Linked DNA regions of Homo sapiens: region 1 is linked to region 2. The links are contacts of gene promoters, found by promoter capture Hi-C in blood cells and fetal thymus (Javierre and others, 2016). All regions are on one chromosome and are shown on one strand. Each heading gives the region's core, a stretch centred on a gene start or on the middle of the fragment in contact. The rest is flanking DNA. Distances are from core to core; before and after follow the strand shown.

Region 1 (6,726 bases), core at 2,593-5,092, 380 kb after region 2:
ACCACTCCCTAATCTCAAGTATCCAGGGACACAAACACTGCGGAAGGCCACAGGGACCTCTGCCTAGGAAAGCCAGGTATTGTCCAAGGTTTCTCCCCATGTGATAGTCTGAAATATGGCCTCGTGGGAAGGGAAAGACCTGACCGTCCCCCAGCCCGACACCCGTAAAGGGTCTGTGCTGAGGAGGATTAGTATAAGAGGAAGGCATGCCTCTTGCAGTTGAGACAAGAGGAAGGCATCTGTCTCCTGCCCGTCCCTGGGCAATGGAATGTCTCGGTATAAAACCCGATTGTACGTTCTATCTACTGAGATAGGGAAAAACCGCCTTAGGGCTGGAGGTGGGACATGCGGGCAGCAATACTGCTTTGTAAAGCATTGAGATGTTTATGTGTATGCATATCTAAAAGTACAGCACTTAATCCTTTACCTTGTCTATGTTGCAAAGACCTTTGTTCACGTGTTTGTCTGCTGACCCTCTCCCCACAATTGTCTTGTGACCCTGACACGTCCCCCTCTTAGAGAAACACCCACGAATGATCAATAAATACTAAGGGAACTCAGAGGCTGGCGGGATCCTCCATATGCTGAACGCTGGTCCCCCGGGTCCCCTTATTTCTTTCTCTATACTTTGTCTCTGTGTCTTTTTCTTTTCCAAGTCTCTCGTTCCACCTTACGAGAAACACCCGCAGGTGTGGAGGGGCAACCCACCCCTTCAGTAATCACTCCCTACACTGCCAAGTTCCAATATGGAACCCCTAGGATTTCTAAATTCAAGGTATGGCCATCCAAGTCACTAAAAAGCTGTATCTGTCAAGATAGGAGGATAGGCTGGGTGTGGTAACTCACACGTGTAATTCCGATGCTCTGGGAGGCTGAGGCTGGAGGATCATTTGAGCCCAGGAGTTTAAGACCAGCCTGAGTTACATAGCGAGACCCCCATCTCTAAGAGAATAAAAAATATAATTCGCCAGGTGTAGTGGTGCATGCCTGTGGTCCCAGCTACTCAGGAGGCTGAGGCAAGAGGATTGCTTGAGCCTGGGAAGTTGAGGCTGCAGTGAACTGTGATTGTGCCACTGCACTCCAACCTGATGGATGACAGAATGAGACTGTGTCTTAAAAAAAAAAAAAAAGGAGGATAGAACATATTTTATTTAACAAGTTATTCGCTTGATTTCTGACTTAAAAATTTTTAGACATATGGTATCCCCCATTTGTAATTTTGCACTGGGTGCTACGGATGTTCAGGATAGCCCCGAAAGTCACGTCATCTATAAAGAAACAACAAGAGACCGAAAGCTGGTTTCTTATTTCAAACAGTAGATAATGCACAGAGGATAATGCAGTATCTTCAAAATGAAAGGGAAAATTTCTGTCGGTTTAGAATTCCCTGTCTAGTTAAACTGGTATTCAAAAGTGAGGATAAAATAAAGACATTATCAAACCAAGACTAAGAGAATTTCCCACTCACAGACCCTTGCTGAAAGAAGTCCTGAAAGATGTAGTTTATTTATTTATTTTGAGACAGAGTCTTGCTCTGTCACCCAGGCTGAAGTGCAGTGGTGCAGTCTTGGCTTACTGCAACCTCCGCCTCCTGGGTTCAAGCAATTCTTCTGCCTCAGCCTCCAGAGTAGCTGCGACTATGTATGCACCACCGTGCCTGGCTAATTTTTTCGTATTTTTAGTAGGGACGGGGTTTCACCATGTTGGCCAGGCTGGTCTTGAACTCCTGACCTCAAGTGATCTGCCCGCCTCGGCCTCCCAAAGTGCTAGGATTATAGGCATGAGCCACCACGCCTGGCCAGGATGTAGTTTAGAAAGAGGAAAAATAAACCCAGCAGAAAGGATCAGTATGTGAGGCTTAATGATGAGCAAAGAAATTACTGATTTTTAGAGGATAAGCACAGAGTGGAACTAGACTAGTACCTAGCAATCAAGTGAAAGGTGAGAGGCAAGATTCACAGTTAAAACAGTCTAAGATCTTTATGATGTAAGGTATACAATTTAAACTTTTTCAGCTATAACTTTTTAGTTTTTTTTTATCTCAGAAAAAAATATGGAATGCTTCACGAATTTTTTATTTTTTTGTGTGTGGAGATGACGGGGTCTCACTATGTTCACCAGGCTGGTCTTGAACTGCTGGCCTCAAGCAATCCTTCTGCCTTGGCCTCCCAAAGTGCTAGGACTACAGATGTGAGCCACCTTACTGGGTCTCAGCTATAAATTTTAATATTTTTAAAGTAACTATGTTAAGCAAATATGCAAAAAGAAAGAAAAAAAGTGAATAGTTAGGATGAAAGACCCCTTCCCCCAGAAAAGCAAAACAAGTTTAGTTGTTAGTACATATAAAATAGTCCTCATTTCAATATGAGAAAAGGCACTGATTTTTTTTTTTTTTTTTTGAGACGGAGTCTTGCTCTGTCGCCCAGGCTGGAGTGCAGTGGCATAATCTCGGCTCACTGCAAGCTCTGCCTCCCGGGTTCACACCATTCTCCTGTCTCAGCCTCCCGATAGCTGGGACTACAGGTGCCCGCCACCATGCCCGGCTAATTTTTTGTACTTTTAGTAGAGACGGGGGTTCACCATGTTAGCCAGGATGGTCTTGATCCCCTGACCTCGTGAACTGCCCGCCTCGGACTCCCAAAGTGCTGGGATTACAGGTGTGAGCCACCGCACCCGGCCTACTAATTTATTTTTTGTAAAACTCCTCTAACCCAAACCACTGGCTATAAAATACTACCACCTCTGCCATCATTGTCCCCCAAATACAAGTTATTTTTCATCTGTGAAGGAAGCTTTATGAGAGCTATTGCACTTTATTCTTATAAAACTCCATGAAAGATAGACATTAAAATGTTTGCAGAAATCTCATAAACTTGGCTTTTAAATGAATGAGTCAGTCATCAACAGCTATTTGCACAAAACTTTACTCTTTTCTCTGAGCAATACAAAGAAAACAGGACAGTCCCTCCCATGAAGGAGCTTAAAATCTGATTTGGCAGACGCAAGCTGTATAAACTCACCTGGAAATAAAACCTGGGATAGAAGACAGCAAATAGTAAAAGGCTGCAATTGGTATAACCCTTACATATCTTGGAAGGCTTTGACTCAATACATGAAATTTGAGCTTTAAGAGAGGTAGAATTTCGTTAGAGAAAACTGGGGACTGGCATAAGCATAAAGCACTAAAACAGAGAAAGGTGTTAGAGCCAAGACAGAAGATATTTTCAAAAAAGAAGGGTAGCTGGGTGTGGTGGCACATTTCTGTAGTCTTGTAACTGCCCAGTGGGTTCGTTTTCCTTGCTGCCCAGATAGAGCTGATTTATCCAGACAGGGGAGTCATGATACAGAGTTTAACTCACACAGAGCTGGCTGACAGGAGACCAGAGTTTTATTATTACTCAAATCAGTCTCTTCAAAGATTTAGAGACTAGGGTTTTTCAAAGACAGTTTGGTGGGTACAGGGCCAGTGAGTCGGGAGTGCTGATTGGTTGGATCAGAGATGAAATCATAGGGAGTCAAAGCTGTCCTGAGCTGAATTGGTTTCTGGGTGGGGCCCACAGGACTGGTTGATGAGTCCAGGTGGACCCATTGTTCATCAGAAATGCAAAAACCCAGGCCGGGCGCGGTCACTCACGCCTGTAATCCCAGCACTTTGGGAGGCCGATGTGGGTGGATCACAAGGTCAGGAGATCATGACCATCCTGGCCAACATGGTGAAACCCCGTTTCTACTGAAAATAAAAAAAAAAAATTAGCCGGGCATGGCGACGTGCACCTGTAGACCCAGCTACTCAGGAGGCTGAGACAGGAGAATGGCGTGAACCCGGGAGGCGGAGCTTGCAGTGAGCTGAGATCATGCCACTGCACTCCAGCCTGGGCGACAAAGCGAGACTCCGTTTCAAAAAAAAAAAAAAAAAAAAAAAAAAAAAAAGGCAAAAACCCGAAAAGACATCTCAAAAGGCCAGTCTTAGGTTCTACAATAGTGATGTTATCTGCAAGAATAATTGAGGAAGTTGCTAATCTTGTGGCCTCCACAATAATGGTTGGTAATATTTTAGCTAAGCCTGTATCTTAATAGAATCCAGGCCCCTCCCATCCTCCTAACTTGACCTTCCATTAGGTTTACAAGGGCAGTTTAGTTTTGGGGGAGGGCTATTATCGTTTAAACTATAAACTAAATTTGCCCCAAAGTTACCTTGGCCCACATCCAGGAATGAGTGAAGACAGCCAGCCTGTGAGACTGGAAGCAAGATGGAGTCAGCCATGTCAGATTTCTTTTACTGTTGTAATTTTGCAAAGGCAGTTTCAGCCCGAGCTACTCAGGAGGCTGAGGCTTCACTTGAGTCCAGGAATTCGGGCTGTAGTGCACTATCATGGTGGCTGTGAATAGCTGCTGTACTCCAGCCTGGGCAATGTAGCAGACCCAGTCTTTAATTTAAAAAAAAAAAAAAAAAGGACATATCCTAATCTGTCATGGGAGTAGAGTTAAAAAAAAAGGGGGGGGGGTAATCATTATGTGAAATACTGAGAGAAATCATTTAATGAATCATAATATGGACTGAAGTAAACACAAGGATGAAATAATTGAAAATACTGTTTTCAATATGACACCAACTTCAGTATTTTATCTCATTTCCCTTCTTGTATATGCCATTAAATTTTCAAAAAATGTAGCAAATATAAATACAAGATGTTGACTTTCTGTGAGTTACATATATGAATAGCTTACAGTTTTACTGCTTCTACATACAACTTTATTTCCTAGACTTTCTCTAGCTTAAAAAAATCCTGCAGACAAGATCACCATTATATTGCTTGTGTTTTAAGTTCAGGGCTGTAGGCTTCTGGTTTGTAATACTGAGAGAAACGCTATTAATAGTATTCCTAAAGGCATAAAGCTTTCCTCCAAACCATGACTCTCGGACCAAGGCTCCTTTCATTTTGTGGCCCTGCCATCTTCAACAAGTGGCTTCCAGGGTCTTTGCAGAAGGGGAAAGAACAAGGAGGACCACCGTGGGAGAGCTGCGTGTGAGCTTAGCCTGGAAATAGCACGCTTCTCTTCCTTTTGTTACAGTAGGTAGTAGGCAGACATGAGCAGGGCAGGAAAGCACCCCCCTACCACAACCAGGAATGTCAGGAAACCATCAGGTAATGGTCAGGCGGTTGTTAACTGTCTCTCTAAAATAATAATTGGTTGCAGCCAGCGCCAGAGAAAGGCAGGCTCTCAATAAATAGAAAACACCCGAAACTGGTGATCAGCAGCTTCCTGGTAAGATCTCAGGAGTTGGGTGAGTGGGCTCAAGCATGAAAACTAAGGCAAAATGGCAGAGTTTAACCAGTATATGACCTTCCTCTAGAACACTCAACTGGTAAGGGAAAAACGCCTCAAGTGAGCATGTGCACAGCTTCAGTAAACACACTGCACATGCGGCTCCTCCCAAGTGCTGGCAGGCCAGTGCGAATGCAGACAGCCCACCCCAAAGGAAGAACTGGGAGAAGAGATGTTACCCACTGGAAGCATGCCAGTGTATAAAGCCCCGAGTCAAAGGTCAAACTGTACACTTGAATCTTTCACGTTACCTGCTTGGCCCTCTTCCAAGTGTACTTTTTTAAAATTCCTGCTCTAAAACTTTTTAAAGACTTTCACTCCTGCTCTAAAACTTGCCTCAGTCTCTCCCTCTGCCTTATGCCCCTCAGTCAAGTTCTTTCTTCTGAGGTGGCAAGAATTGAGGCTGCTGCAGACCTGTACAGATTCACTGCTGCTAACACTTTCACATTCCACTGATCAGGACTCAGTTGCATGGCCACAGCTAACTTAAGTGAAGATGGAAAATGTGGTTTAACTGTTTGCTCAGGAAGAAAAAGAAACAGTTTAGTAAACAGTTGGCCAGTCTCTGCCATACATACGTTTTTCCCATTTAATCCTAACAACCCTATAAGATATGTGCAGTAACTTATCCCACTTTATGGATGAGGAAATTGAAATCTTTTTTACGTGTACAAATTTATGGGGTACATGTGAAATTTAGTTACATGTATATAATGTGGACTAATCAAGTCTCGTTTTTTTTGTTTTGCATTTTTTTTTGTTTGTTTTTTCTTTTTTTTGAGACAGGGTCTTGCTCATGGCTCATTGCAGCCTTGACCTCCCAGGCTTCAGCAATCCTCCTATCTCAGCTTCCCTGGTAGCTAGGACTATAAGTGCATGCCACTGTGCCTGGCTAATTTTTTTATTTTTTGTAAAGACGGAGTTTCACCATGTTGCATAGGCTGGTCTCTAACTCCTAAACTCAAACCATCTGCCCACCTGGGTCTCCCAAAGTGCTGAGATTACAGGTGTGAGCCACCATGCCTGGAAAGAAACTGAAATTTTGATAGGCTGAGTACCATACCTAATACCTCACAGTTAATAAATGGCAGAACTCAAACTCAAACCTAGGCAGTCCAACTCCAGAAACCATATTCTTTAAAAAGCTACTGTAACATGACTGATATTCCTTTTACTGAAGAAGAATATTTAAGCCTTTTTTAATTGTAAGAGGGGTATGATAATTATGGAACTTTAAGTAAATACAAACCCATCATTTTGGAGAAGATGATACTGAGATTTAGAGGCGGAATGTTCTACTGAAGGTTAAATCATTGCTGCCTATGTACCATACGATGTAAAGTAACATTTTTTTAAAGAGAATGCAATCTTGGCCGAGCGCAGTGGGCCTGTAATCCC
Region 2 (6,298 bases), core at 229-2,728:
CAGAGAAGAGGTTGAGGATTTAAGCCACTGAGGGGGTGGAGCTGGGCAGTGAGTAGGACGTCAGGCTTGCAAGCTCTGGGATTAGGCCGACCAGAGCCCATATCCCAGTCCCGCCTCTTACTGCCTGCTTGATCTCAAGCAAGACCGCTTTGTTCATGGGCGAAAGGAGCGCCCCGGGCCATGAGGATTAAATGGAGAGCACAGGGCCAGATCCATCTAAATTCTCAGTAAGTGTTAGCTATTGTTATTAAGACCACACCGAACAGACTGAACATCCGTTTTAGCCCCTTTCCCCAATTTTCGTTCTTTCCGGTGTTGACAAATCCTCTAGTTTTTTAAGTTTATAAAACATGTTGTACATAAGAATGACATATCACATGTGAAAGTACTCTAGTGTCCACGTAAATATTTGTCTTGTTCTTTATAATAAGTAAACATGCTCACGGATCCTTGAAATTATCTGGTCACTGCCGGGCGCGGTGGCTCACGCCTGTAATCCCAGCACTTTGGGAGGTCGAGGCGGGTGGACCACCTGGGGTCAGGAGTTCGAGACCAGGCTGGCCAACATGGCGAAACCCTGACTACACAAAAAACACAAAATTTAGCCGGGGCTTGGGCGCTCCTGTGCTCCCAGCTACTCAGGAGGCTGAGGTGGGAGGACTGCTTGAGCCTGGGAGGTCGAGGCTGCAGTGAGCTGTGATCGCGCCACTTAAACTCCAGCCTGGACGACAGTGAGACCCTGTCTCAAGAAGAAAAAAAGAAAGAAAGAAAGAAAAAAAGAAAAAAAAGAAATTATTTGGTCAATTATATGGTCAGCTCCCTCCACCACTCGCGAATTTACAGAAGAGGAGAACTGGGCTGGGCGAGACCAGGACTAGCCCAAGATTACACAAGTTACTCGGTTGTAGAGCCAGGATTAGACAGGAGAGGCTCTAGATTCTGGTCTAGACTCCCCTCCTATTATTTAGCATTATGGCTTCCTGAGGATTACCATGAGCCCTCCTCCACCGTCAAGCGGCAGCTACCAGCCACCAGACCAGATCCCTTCGAAGGTGCCCGGAGTACCAGACTGACAAAAGCGCCCGTACAGTGCTCAGTCCTGTAACCAAAGCTGTCTAGGGTGCAGACATCGCTCACCGGACCGGGTAGGGCTCGTGCGCTAAGGGCGCCGGGTATTCCAGTTAGTGGAGAGGGAAGCGCCCTGGAACTGCATGGGCCCGGGAGAGGGCGCGGGAGCGGAGCAGGGCCGGGCCGGGGCGGGCCGCGGCCGTGGGCGGAGACTGCGCGCAGCTAGCTCGGGAGCGCCTCGGAGCCCACCCCGCAGAGCCGCTTCTCGCGCCCCGCAGCGCAGCGCAGCGCTCCGCCGTCTGACCTGCCGCGCCCGCAGCGTGCGGGCTGGGAAAGGAGGCGCTCACCGAGAGGGACCACGCGCCAGGCTCCCAGCCCGACCCGGGACGCGGCGGCCGCGCGGAGCACCCATGGGCAGCCCCTGGAACGGCAGCGACGGCCCCGAGGGGGCGCGGGAGCCGCCGTGGCCCGCGCTGCCGCCTTGCGACGAGCGCCGCTGCTCGCCCTTTCCCCTGGGGGCGCTGGTGCCGGTGACCGCTGTGTGCCTGTGCCTGTTCGTCGTCGGGGTGAGCGGCAACGTGGTGACCGTGATGCTGATCGGGCGCTACCGGGACATGCGGACCACCACCAACTTGTACCTGGGCAGCATGGCCGTGTCCGACCTACTCATCCTGCTCGGGCTGCCGTTCGACCTGTACCGCCTCTGGCGCTCGCGGCCCTGGGTGTTCGGGCCGCTGCTCTGCCGCCTGTCCCTCTACGTGGGCGAGGGCTGCACCTACGCCACGCTGCTGCACATGACCGCGCTCAGCGTCGAGCGCTACCTGGCCATCTGCCGCCCGCTCCGCGCCCGCGTCTTGGTCACCCGGCGCCGCGTCCGCGCGCTCATCGCTGTGCTCTGGGCCGTGGCGCTGCTCTCTGCCGGTCCCTTCTTGTTCCTGGTGGGCGTCGAGCAGGACCCCGGCATCTCCGTAGTCCCGGGCCTCAATGGCACCGCGCGGATCGCCTCCTCGCCTCTCGCCTCGTCGCCGCCTCTCTGGCTCTCGCGGGCGCCACCGCCGTCCCCGCCGTCGGGGCCCGAGACCGCGGAGGCCGCGGCGCTGTTCAGCCGCGAATGCCGGCCGAGCCCCGCGCAGCTGGGCGCGCTGCGTGTCATGCTGTGGGTCACCACCGCCTACTTCTTCCTGCCCTTTCTGTGCCTCAGCATCCTCTACGGGCTCATCGGGCGGGAGCTGTGGAGCAGCCGGCGGCCGCTGCGAGGCCCGGCCGCCTCGGGGCGGGAGAGAGGCCACCGGCAGACCGTCCGCGTCCTGCGTAAGTGGAGCCGCCGTGGTTCCAAAGACGCCTGCCTGCAGTCCGCCCCGCCGGGGACCGCGCAAACGCTGGGTCCCCTTCCCCTGCTCGCCCAGCTCTGGGCGCCGCTTCCAGCTCCCTTTCCTATTTCGATTCCAGCCTCCACCCGCCGGTACTTCCCATCCCCCGAGAAAACCATGTCCTGTCCCCCAGGAGCTCTGGGGGACCCCAGGGCGCTTTGAGGGTGGGATCCCCGGATCCGATTCAGTAACCAGCAGTGCTTTTCCAGAGCCTCTGAGACCAGAAAGGAGAGTTGGTAATTCTTAATCCAACCACCTGTTAGATGCCACAGATGAGGAGTCCTCACAGTGCTCTTGAGAAGACGAGGGAGATTTCATTAAGCTAAAATTTTTTATTTAATGTTAAGTGATGCTGAAGGCTAAAGTAAACCTTGCTCGTATCAAAAAGTAAAGATTGTGCAGACCTGTTGTAGAATTCTTTTCAACAGAGAACAGAAAACTTGTCTCCGAAGTGGGTTTGTGGAAGGAAGCCTGCCAAGGCGGCTTGTTCAGAGAAATTGCTCCTTCTGGTTTATGTCCAGCCTTGATAACACATATGGGAGCCTACTATGCAGTTTTAAAGCAAGTATCCATGCAGCCTGCAGCCTGGTCATTTTTTCTGGGGTGAGGATCTGCCTAGGTAGAAGTTTTCTCTAATTTATTTTGCTGTTACTTGTTATTGCAGATGGTTCCTTGTCGGGGTGGGGGGTTTATTTGCTTCCCAATGCTTTTGTTAATCCCGGTGCTGTGTCTTATGTTGCAGTGGTGGTGGTTCTGGCATTTATAATTTGCTGGTTGCCCTTCCACGTTGGCAGAATCATTTACATAAACACGGAAGATTCGCGGATGATGTACTTCTCTCAGTACTTTAACATCGTCGCTCTGCAACTTTTCTATCTGAGCGCATCTATCAACCCAATCCTCTACAACCTCATTTCAAAGAAGTACAGAGCGGCGGCCTTTAAACTGCTGCTCGCAAGGAAGTCCAGGCCGAGAGGCTTCCACAGAAGCAGGGACACTGCGGGGGAAGTTGCAGGGGACACTGGAGGAGACACGGTGGGCTACACCGAGACAAGCGCTAACGTGAAGACGATGGGATAACCAGCACGGCCAAGCCAGGCTCCTCTTGCAGTTCTAAGACTTTGGGGAAAACAGGTGTGTAGAGAAATAAAGACTGCAAATGAGGAACAGATCCTGTTAAGAAGAATGGAAAGAGGGTTGCAGTTGTGCCAGTTGGTTAAGAAATAGACCGCATGATTTATTTAACCAAGGTATGAAATGTAACTGCGCCAACCTTTCTAGTTTCCTTCCCACGTACCTCCTAAGGAAGGTCGATTTTACCATCATGAAATCCCACATCTCAAAGTGTGCTCTTGTGTGATGGTTTCATGAAGTCCTCATTCTCCTACTCTTCGGAAAGATGATTGTTCATTTTACAGTTAAATGATACACAAAGATGCTGCCCCAAAACTGCCACCTCTGAGATCATGAGTGTATTTTATGTTTTGGATGTAAATGTAACAGTACATCTACAAGGAACCAGGATAATGATAGTTTTGATCCAAGAAATGATTTAATACCTATGTATGGCTGCAAAAACTTTTAGAAGTAAAAGGAATTCTGGGTAGACTCCAGTGTTCAGGGGTCCCACCTCTCTCCAGATCACAGCAAATCATAAAGTTTAGGCAAAATAATAGCCTCTTTCAGAAGTATTAAGCAATTGTGTTGCAACCCACTTCTCCTTGACACTGCCCATGGGACCTTCCCAGTGCCACTGGCCATGGGGTGGCAAACTTTGGGCATCAACATTTGAGAGTAGAGAGCTCAGCAGGACATGGCTTTCTCCAGTGACTACAAATGACGTTTGTAAAGAGCTATTTAATATGCTTTATCTCACCTCAGCTTGGTGGGGTGAGTACTGTTGTCAACATTCCTGTTTTGGAAGTGAGTCTTGGATTGCCCAAACAGGAGCTGGTGAGCTGGAGTCTGAATCCAGTGTTTAAGTTGCTCACCCAATCCCAAGCCAAGATGCTGTCCTTACTGAAAAACGCCAGCCAATGGATTTAGTCAAGAGTGAAAGAGAACTCACTGGACATTCTGATCAACAACTCTGTAACTTTGTTTTGTTTTTTAGAGTTTAAAACACAAATATTTTTAGAGGGTTACTGCTGTCACTCAGCTCCAAAGGGCTTCACTTATGCCACCTTCTGTATGAATGGCACCCCCAAGATGTGGGCAGGGTACAGCTTTCACAGTTGTACATGGGACCTTTTTTGGGGCTTTCAGATTGATAAATTCAAACCTAAATTACAATAGGATCTTGATTTGTATGAGGAATTTGTCCTGAGACCTTCATGAATCTTCACATCTACAAATACCAGAAAAATGACAAATGCTATAACTTCAGAGTTATAAAGACAGATAGACATAAAGTCACATTGAGACTTGGAGGCTAGAGAGGCAGCTCCGTTGATTCACTGACTTGATGTCTCTGCTTCACAGCCCACAGTTTGGGTGGCTTTGGTAAATGTCTAAATTACTTTCCGCCACAGGCCACCATAGTCTCTTTTGAATAGTTAAAACTACAAAAGATGAATACATAAATAACAAGGGTCTGCCCGACATGCATTCAAAGTTCTGTTGCTTTCTCATTTTCTTAGCCAAAGCCCTAGCTCAGTCCCCAGCCCGGTCCACAATTGGCACAGGAATGAAGTCTCTCGTTTGCTTTTTCTCCTAGCTAGTGGAAGAAGCAGATTGCAGTCACTTCAGGAAGCATTCCCTAAACTGTGTTCTGCAGATTTCCAGGGATTATTGGAAAAAATGGTTCTGGGGTTAAATATGGCAGGAAAATACCACATTGTGTTCCCCCTACCACACCCTAAACATTTCACACACATAACACAATATAGCATGTCAGAGGCTCTGAGAAGTTGTCTCAACCAACATTTCCTTGACTTATTTTATCACAGAACCAACTCTCCATCTTCCCTCCCAAGAACACTTAGTAAAATCTCATGGAGTGAGAAATACTTTGGGGAGCACTGATGTAGGGGTTCTGACAGTGGAGGTGTCAGCCTGGAGCCTCCATAACTCTCTGCTTGGTAGCACTGAGTACAGCAGCTGCCACAGTCCTTCTGCTCATGGGAGCTCCTCTCTGGAGCAGTCAGGAGTGGCCACCTCCCTAGGGAAAGTCACAGCAAAGAACCTTATTAAGATGTATATAATATTTTATTTTATTTTTTTAGAGACAGGATCTCACCCTGTTGCCCAGGCTGGAGTGCAGTGGCACAATCATAGCTCACTGTAACCTTAAATTCCTGGATTCAAACCATCCTCCCACCTCAGCCTCCCCAGTAGGCAGGACTACAGGCACACACCACCATGCCTGGCTAATTTTTTAGTTTTTTGTAAAGTTGGGGTCTTGCTGTGTTGCCCAGGCTGGTCTCAAACTCCTGGCCTCAAGCAATCCTCCTGCCTCAGCTTCCCAAAGTGCTGGGATTACAGGCATGAGCCACCACACCTGGCTCATGTATAATATTCTAAATGTAGAAGCAAAGACCTCTCTTTTGAGCTTTCTCGTTCAGAATCTAGAAAACAAGGATTTACATGACACTTTCCTGGGACTTAAGCATGTTTCCAGGTGTGGGCATAGGGAGGATTATCCTTCCCTTCCCAGATGGTACCTGAGATGGAGGGCCTGAAGGCCATCCCTTCCTTCAGGATTCTTGTGTGGTCTCAGCCTACTAGTGGACTGTGAAATCAGTAAGTGTGTCATATTTTTCTTTAATGGAACAGTGTGGACAAGAATAGAGTCCATTGTGTATCACATGTACTAAGGTAACTATTGTGCTGTGAAACTTTTGTTTCAATTATGTTTTGGT

The links. The method cuts DNA at HindIII sites, captures the fragments that hold promoters and counts their contacts. A CHiCAGO score of 5 or more calls a contact.
Region 1: a fragment that was not itself captured here is called in contact with the fragment with the promoter of MLNR in region 2 in 1 of 17 cell types (megakaryocytes); the score reaches 5.0 in megakaryocytes.

What each region holds. Positions count from the first base shown.
Region 1 is chr13:49,599,276-49,606,001 of GRCh38, forward strand. No RefSeq gene overlaps it. Among named protein-coding and RNA genes, the nearest start is that of RCBTB1, 17 kb to the left of the region's middle. The HindIII fragment of the contact is 2,105 bases long and covers 2,791-4,895 here.
Region 2 is chr13:49,218,860-49,225,157 of GRCh38, forward strand. MLNR (motilin receptor) reads left to right here and starts at 1,479. Exons shown (of 2, transcript NM_001507.1): 1 at 1,479-2,379; 2 at 3,181-3,518. The coding sequence starts at 1,479. The coding sequence ends at 3,518. RefSeq lists silencers at 909-1,165, 1,102-1,361, 1,432-1,511. The HindIII fragment of the contact is 8,957 bases long and covers 1-6,298 here.